Regions from separate parts of the Homo sapiens genome. Here regions 1 and 2 are each linked to region 3. The links are contacts of gene promoters, found by promoter capture Hi-C in human tissues and cell types (Jung and others, 2019). All regions are on one chromosome and are shown on one strand. The core of a region is centred on a gene start or on the middle of the fragment in contact, and the rest is flanking DNA. Distances in the headings are between cores, read along the strand shown. Region 1 has its middle 12 kb from the start of EIF2S3B. Region 2 overlaps KLRC4-KLRK1 (KLRC4-KLRK1 readthrough). Region 3 holds the start of KLRC1 (killer cell lectin like receptor C1).

The links. Contacts are between HindIII fragments. The study calls those that stand out against the background at their distance.
Region 1: a fragment that was not itself captured here is called in contact with the fragment with the promoter of KLRC1 in region 3 in 2 of the 25 tissues and cell types used here (heart left ventricle and neural progenitor cells).
Region 2: a fragment that was not itself captured here is called in contact with the fragment with the promoter of KLRC1 in region 3 in 2 of the 25 tissues and cell types used here (liver and mesendoderm cells).

Annotation. Positions count from the first base shown.
Region 1 is chr12:10,492,095-10,494,794 of GRCh38, forward strand. No RefSeq gene overlaps it. Among named protein-coding and RNA genes, the nearest start is that of EIF2S3B, 12 kb to the right of the region's middle. The HindIII fragment of the contact is 6,447 bases long and covers 1-2,700 here.
Region 2 is chr12:10,398,793-10,401,492 of GRCh38, forward strand. All of the region lies in intron 4 of KLRC4-KLRK1 (KLRC4-KLRK1 readthrough), which reads right to left. Among named protein-coding and RNA genes, the nearest start is that of KLRC4, 9.6 kb to the right of the region's middle. The HindIII fragment of the contact is 6,575 bases long and covers 1-2,700 here.
Region 3 is chr12:10,452,053-10,454,752 of GRCh38, forward strand. It overlaps KLRC1 (killer cell lectin like receptor C1), which reads right to left and starts at 1,325. Exons shown (of 7, transcript NM_002259.5): 1 at 1,146-1,325. The HindIII fragment of the contact is 6,428 bases long and covers 1-2,700 here.

The DNA.
Region 1 (2,700 bases), core at 184-2,683, 40 kb after region 3:
TCTCTCTTTATCCCCTCCCCTCCATATACGCTTTCCAGGCTTTGGTAACTATTATTCTCCTCTCTACTTCTATGAGATTGACTTTTCAAGCTCCCACCTTTAATTGATAAAACAAAAAGAGGGAAAATTAGTAAGGTTGCAGAATAATTTATTAACAATATCAACCAGCTTAACTTTGTTTGCATGTTTAGAGCAAACACTACCACTAACAGCAGCAGAATGAAGATTCTTCATAACTGCATACGAAACATTCACCAAGTTCGTTCATACACTGGACATAAAACCAGACTCAATAAGTCTTGGAGGATAGAAATTATGCACAGTATGTTCTCTCATACAATAAAAATAAATTAGAAATTGTTAGCAAGATGACACTAGAAAATCCACTAATATTTAGAAAATTAAAAGCATGCCTCTACATAAATCCATGAGACATAAAATTACAAAATATTTTAATAAATAAAAATTAAACACCTATCAAAATTTGGGAGATGTGTTAATAGTGAGTAGAAAGATAATTATTTCATTAAGTAAAAAATAAAGGGTCTCAAATAATTGACTTAAGCTTTACCCTAACGTACTACCAAGTGAAAAATAAGTTAACCCCAAATGAGCAAAAGGAAAGAAATAATAATACAGCAGAAAAGTATGAAATAAGAACTTAATAGATAAAATTGATTACTGTGAAAGCCAGTCTTTGAATAGATCAGTAAGTTTGAAATAACTAGAGTTAACAGAAAAAAAGAGACAAGACAAAAATTATCATTATCTGAATGAAAAGGTGTGGGGAACATTTGCAAAAATCTTACAGATATTAAATGGAGAATGAGTGACTTATGAACAAATGCCAATAAATGTATTGACTTAGATTAAAATCGATTCCTTGAAAAATACAACTAAAGATGCCTATACAGGAATTAGAAGCCCTACATTGAACTGCATCAATTAAAGTTAAATTTTTGTTAATTATTTTGCAACAAAGGAAACAGTAGGTTCAAATGATTTTACTGGTTAACTCTTCCAAATCTTTAAAGAACACAGTTCTCTTGATTTTTTGTTTGTTTGTTTGTTTGTTTGTTTTGAGGCGGAGTCTCGCTCTGTCGTCCAGGCTGGAGTGCAGTGGCGCGATCTCGGCTCACTGCAAGCTCCGCCTCCCGGGTTCACACCATTCTCCTGCCTCAGCCTCCCCAGTAGCTGGGACTACAGGCGCCCGCCACCACGCCCAGCTAATTTTTTGTATTTTTAGTAGAGACGGGGTTTCACCGTGTTAACCAGGATGGTCTCCATCTCCTGATCTCGTGATCCACCTGCCTCAGCCTCCCAAAGTGCTGGGATTACAAGCGTGAGCCACCGCGCCCGGCCTCTCTTGATGTTTTAAAACAAACTTTTCCAGAGAGCTTATTCAAAGAATAATATGAGAAAACTTCCTAAATCCACGTAATTGGACATTAAACTGTAGAAACACAAAGGACTCCAGCTAGGATGAACAATAAACATTGACACTGAGACTCATTATACCCTGTCAAAAGTCAAAGACAAAGAATCTTGAAAACAGCAAAGGAAAAGCAACTAATCATGTATAAGAAAGTTTCCATAAGATTATCGGCAGATTTATTAGCAGGAACATAGCACACCAGAATTAAGTGGGATAAGATATTCAAAGTGCTGGGAAAAAATGCTAACCAGGAATACTGTACCTACCTTTCCTCCTGGTAGTTCTGAGGAAACGAGGCAGTCCAGATGAGTGGGTTTCCTCTCAGCGAAGCACATCCCTCCACTAAGGGACTGTCAGAGTGCTTCGTTAAATGGGTCCTGTTCCCTGTGCCACGCAACTGGGTGAGACCCTCCAGCAGGGGTTGTCAGACACCCTATACAGGAGTGATCCTACTGGTGTCAGGTTGGTGTCTCTTGAGGTCAGAGATCCCACAGGAAGGAGCAGGCACTCATCTTTGCTGTTCTCCAGCCACCTTGAGTGACATCTCCAGGCGAGGGAGTGAACCAGTTGAACAGGCCTGAAGTGAACCCCCAGCAAAATGCAGCAACCCTACAGAAGAGGGAGCTGACCATTGAAAGAAAAGCAAACAAACAGAAAGCAACAACAATAGAATCAACAACAACAACAAAAATCCCCACAAAAACCCCATCCAAGGGTCAGCAGCTTCAAAGATCAAAACTGGATAAACTCGTGAAGATGAGAAAAAAATCAACAAAACAACGCTGAAAACCAAAAATGCCAGAGTGCCTCTTCTCCTCCAAATGATGGCAGTGCTTCTCTAGCAAGGGCACATAACCGGATAGAGGATGAAATGGACGAATTGACAGAAGTAGGTTTCAGAAGATGGGTAATAAAAAACTCTGCTGAGCTAAAGGAGCATGTTATAACTAAATGCAAAGAAGCCAAGAACCTTGATAAAAGGTTAGAGGAGCTGCTAACTAGAATAACCAGTTTAGAGAGGAACACGCATGACCTTACGGAACAGAAAAACACAGCACAAAAACTTCGTGAAGCATACACAAGTATCAACACCCAAATTGACCAAGCAGAAGAAAGGATATCAGAGTTTAAAGACCACCTTGCTGAAATAAGGCATGCAGACAAGATTAAAGAAATAAGAATGAAAAAAAACAAAGCCTCCAAGAAAAATGGGACTAGGTAAAAAGACTAAACCTACGATTGATTGGAGTACCAGAAGGAGACGG
Region 2 (2,700 bases), core at 138-2,637, 53 kb before region 3:
TAAAGTAACTATTATAAATGTACTTAAATTATACAGAAAAGTATGTTCAATTAATTAAATGAAAATATGATGGCAATGAGAAAACAAGTAGGAAATTTTGTCAGAGAAATGAAAACCAAGAAATAAACCAAATTCTGAGTTGAGAAGTACATTACTTGAAACGAAAAATTCACTAAATTGGCTAGAAAAAAAATTGAGATTCAAAAGGAAGAATTCATCAACTTTGGGATATATTAATAGAAATTATTCATCCCAGAGAAAAAGAGAATACAGAAAGATGTAGAAAAATAATATTAAGACAAAACTGACTTAAAAACTTTTCAAATTTGCTTTTTTAAAAATGTATACATCCAAGATGCTAAGCAAACTAATGACTAATAGAATCAGCATGTAGAAATCCCCATCTCAAAACATCATAATCAAATGATTGAAGAGGATTTTAAGACAAAGACCCTGAGATAATCTTGTGGAACAGGTAGGACGGATTATGAGATGACTTGAGTCTGTGTGAATGCCAGGGAATGGTTGAGGTATCCCCCACCAGCAGGAGTATTTTGACCACATTACCTTCCAGAGAACCCACATTTGCCCTGAATACTATTCTAGATTGGAAGGAGGCAACATCAACAAGATAGAGGAATAGCATACCCCAGCACTTGCTCCCCATAGAAACAACAACTTAATACATCCAGAAATAAACGTCGGTACATATGGACTAGTGATTTTCAATAAGAGTGCCAAGACCATTCAATGGGAAAAGGGCAGTATCTTCCAGAAATAGTGTTGAGAAAACTGGCTAAACATATGCAAAAGAGTGAAATCAAAGCCTTACATTACACCATCTACAAATATTAACTCATAATGTATTGAAGACTTAATGATAAGATCCAAAACTGTAAAACTTCTAGAAGAAAACATGTGAGGAAAGCTTCATGAAATTGGATTTAGCAATCATTTCTTGATAAAACACCCAAATCACAGCCAACAAAAGCAAAAAATAGGCAAATGGGATTACATCAGACTTAAAAATGTCTGCAGAGCAAATGATTGAAGCAACAAAATCATGTATCTAATAAGGGATTAATATCCAGAATATATTAAGAACTTATGTAATCCAATGACAAAAACCCTAATAACCCTATTTAAAAATGGACAAAGGATTCAAATAGATATTTCTCCAAAGAAGATATACAAATGTCCAATAAGCATATGAAAAGATGCTCAACATTACTATCATCAGAAAAACATAAATCAAAACCACTGTTAAATATCACTTCATACCCATTAGCATGGCCGCTATGAAAAAAGCAGAAAATAACAATTATTGCTTAGGTTGTGAAGAAATTTGGGCCCTTGTGCACTGTTAATGAAAATGTAAAATGGTACAGTCACTATGGAAAACATTATGGAGGTTCCTCAAAAAATTTAAAATTGAGTTGACATATGAACCAACAATCTTACTTCTGTAGAGCCAAAGGAGTTGAGATCAGGAACTTGAACAGGTATCGGCACTCCCATGTTCATTGCAACAGTTAAAACATAGAAGCAACATACAAGCCCATTGATGAATTGGTGGATAAAGAAAATGTGGCATGTGTATAAAATGGAATACAATTCTGCCATTAAAAAGAAGAAAAAGCTATTGCAACAACATGGATAAACCTGAAGGACATTATGCTGAGTAAAATAATAGTAAATTCATAGAAGCAGGGAGTAGAAGGGTGGTTGTCAGGGGCTGGGAGAGGGAAAAACAGGAGAGTATTAGTCAAAGGGTACAAACTTTCAGTTATACGAGATGAACAAGGTCTAGATATCTGTTTTACTACACAGAACCTGTAGTTAATAATGTTGTATACTAAAGATTTGGCTAAGAGCGTAGATCTTAAGTGTTTGTATCACAAAAAATAATAATAAAGAAGGTGGAAGGAAACTTCTGGAGATTACAGATATGTTTATGACACAGATTGTGGTGGTTTCATGGTTATACACTTATCTCTAATCTTATCAAGTTGTATGCATTAAATATGTACAGCTTTTTGTATGTCAATCATACTTCAATAAAGTTGTTTAAACATTTTTAAAAAGGATAATATACTTTATTTTAAAAAAGGAAGTCTTGTTGCATGCTGCAACATGGATAAATCTTAAGGACATTATGCTAAGTTAAATAAGCCAGTCACACAAAAAAAATGCTGCCTGCTTTATTTATATGAGATATCTAAAGTATTCAAACTCATAGAAACAGAAAGTAGAATGCTGATTGCTAGGGGCAAAAAGGGGAGTTGTCCAATGTGTATAGAGTTTCAGTTTTGCAAAATGAACAAATTCTAGAAATCTGTTGTAAAATGTGAATATAGTTAACACTACTGACCTGTTCACTTAAAAATGGTTGAGATATATGATATGGTTAAGATGTAATGGCTCAGATGTAACATACTGTATGAGTTCAACTATATGACATTCTGGAAAAGTAAACAACTATGGAGACAGTACAAAAATCGATGCTTGCCATGTGTTTGAAGGAGGAAAGGATGAATGGGCAGAGCACAGAAGATTTTCAGGGCAATGCAATTATTCTGTATGATCTATGATGATAAAGACATGTCATTATCATTATATATTTGGCCAGACCCATAAAGTGTAAAACACTGAGTGAAACTTAACATAAGCTATGGTCTTTCAATAATAATGATGTTTCAA
Region 3 (2,700 bases), core at 75-2,574:
AAATTAAATATTTGTATATGACAGAAAATGCTATGTGACACAGTTAACTTATGCATAACCTAAATAGTATTAGGAACACTACATAAATTGTTAATACTTACAGAAGTATTGGTAATTTAATTAGTAATTGGTAATTTATTTCCTGGCTAAATTATGAACCAAAAAATGATAAATAAAAGTATAGGTAATTCATGTTAAAGCACATTTCATTTAAACTTATAGAATGATTTTATGGTTGTCAAAGTGAGTAAAGGCCACTTTAGTTGTATAAGTACTTGTAAAATTTCAGATAATGTAATTAAATCATTTAGTCAATGGGCTCTGGAGTCAGTGAGATCTAGAATTAATTCTAGCTTTGACACTTATAATGTGCGACCTTTAAAAAGTTATTCTATTTTTAATAACCCAGTTTGTTAATCTAAAATGGGCATAAGAACATATAAAACGTTGCATGTAAAACATTTACCACTCAACCTGGCACTTAAAGTTCTCAATAAGCATTAGCTACTTTAATTATTATTTTAGTCACAATTGTTATGTTACTGTTTCTGATTCATGTCAGTTAAAGCATGGAAAATAAATCTTCAGATAAGTCTCCTATGTCCATGCGCTACATCTTTTTTTGCAATATTTTGATCAATTTTTAAAAAGTATTTTTATTGCTTTGTAATACCTTTAGCATTTTATGTAATCTACCTCATTCTGATTTTTATTAAAAATAAAAACTGCTTTTCTCTAATCTACGTGTCTGAGGAATTGTATTTGGCTTTCATCAATTGATTGATTTATTTTAATAATCTTTAATGGCTAAGCTAAATATAAATTATTATTCAAAGATACATGATGTACTGATTACAAAATACAAAATTAATTGTTCATTATTGTGATGTTAATAGCTTTCCCTTAAACGATATTGATCAACAAACCCACTAGATTTCCACAAACAATAATTTGAAAACTTTAAGAAATCCTTCAACATATTTCATATTTTAGGTTTTTACCCTGAGTTATTCAAATGAAGACAGCAATATTCTACTTTGATTTTATTGTATATTAATTATACCTCCTTTGTATCATATTGAGCACTTGAAATCACCCACTAAATGAGGTAGGCTAGTAGAGAGTTGGAGAGTAGCAATACATACCTTCTGTCCCCAGAAAGTCACACATCCTTTAGTGGAGAGGCCAGGTTAGTCTCATAAAAAGGCCTGCTATAGCTGTGTAATAAAAGGTGAAATTTAAAGGCATAAATCCAAGACAAGAACAAACAATGCCTGCAATCTTCGCAGACTGCCCTGTGAAGGCTCAGAGTGAGTCAAGAGTGGAAAAAGTAGATTTCTCATCAACGTGTTACTAAGGTTTGAACAGGAAATTCTACACATGGGCTATTGTGAAATCAGTTTTATCTCATCACACACCTCCAAAATATAGGATACTTGGTCTATTAAAAGTACAAGGTTGACTTTGAAAGTGTGTCATTTAGTTGGTTCATTTTTCAAGTGCCTATGAGAATTTTTTTTTTTTCTGTCTTGATCACGAACATTGTCAACCCTCACCTTGTTAAGAGTGCCTTTTAGACTAGGTTGCTAAATCTTAACATTGCATACTTCTTTTCTTTATATTATTTTATTATGTCACTTCCATTATAATAGAAAACATTCTAAAACTCATAGTAATATTATCAACTGATATCTACTGATTTTTTCCTTAATTATTCTGAAAAATTACTGCAGTAATTACTCAATTGATTGTAGCTGGCACAAAAAGCATCATTGCCAAAGTTATATTATTAACTTCTCTTAGTTCTTAAATTTTTGCACTTAATTTTTAAAAATAGATTATTTAATCTTCAGATTACCCTTGATAAAAATATCTTGGATAGGTAAAATATTAATCAATTTTGAAATATATTAGCATACCAGAAATTGAAATATTAAATAGCTATTCATTACATTCTTCATTTATTCATCCTCCGCCATAACAAATTATGTCGACTTTCATAGAAATATTTAGTTGTAAATGACAAAAACTGAAGTCAAACTATGTATGGGGAAAAAGTAATTTTAAAATCTTACTAGGAGGAAAGTCAGTAAATTGGCAGAATAGGTGGTCCCCCACACATATGCCCCCACAGCAACAATAATTTTTCAGCCATCCACAGACAAAAGTTCCTTTGAGGGAGTTTGGAATTCAAGTAGGAGTTTGTAAAATGCCAGTGGAACCCAAGACCTAGGAAGGTTGTTTTAGGGAATAGATTTGCATCCAAGTGGCAGACTTACCAACAGTGATTCCATCTCCAGACCTGAAAAGGGACCCATCCTCCTGTGCTTGCCTTCAGCCCCATTTAGGCCTTGGTCATGCTGCCAAAACCATTTGCCCAGGGGCCCAGGAGGAGACTCACACACTAGTGTCTCAGGAGGTAGGCATATCAACTGTAGTCTCAATGTAGACCCTGAAACAGCCCTCTAACTTGGCTTTAACTAGTGTCAGCCACAACTTGAGATCAGTCCTTCACCCACAGAGACTTCCTGGGAGACATATACATCTGTACCTCTGGGGCATGCTTGCTGACCTCTGTCCTACAGAAGATACTAAAATGGCCCTGAATCTCCACTCAAACTCCTCTCAACTGTGACCTGAGTTAATCACAGGAAATTGCTGTGAGACTCAATCATCTTTGTCAGCAGTACAGGCTTGCTG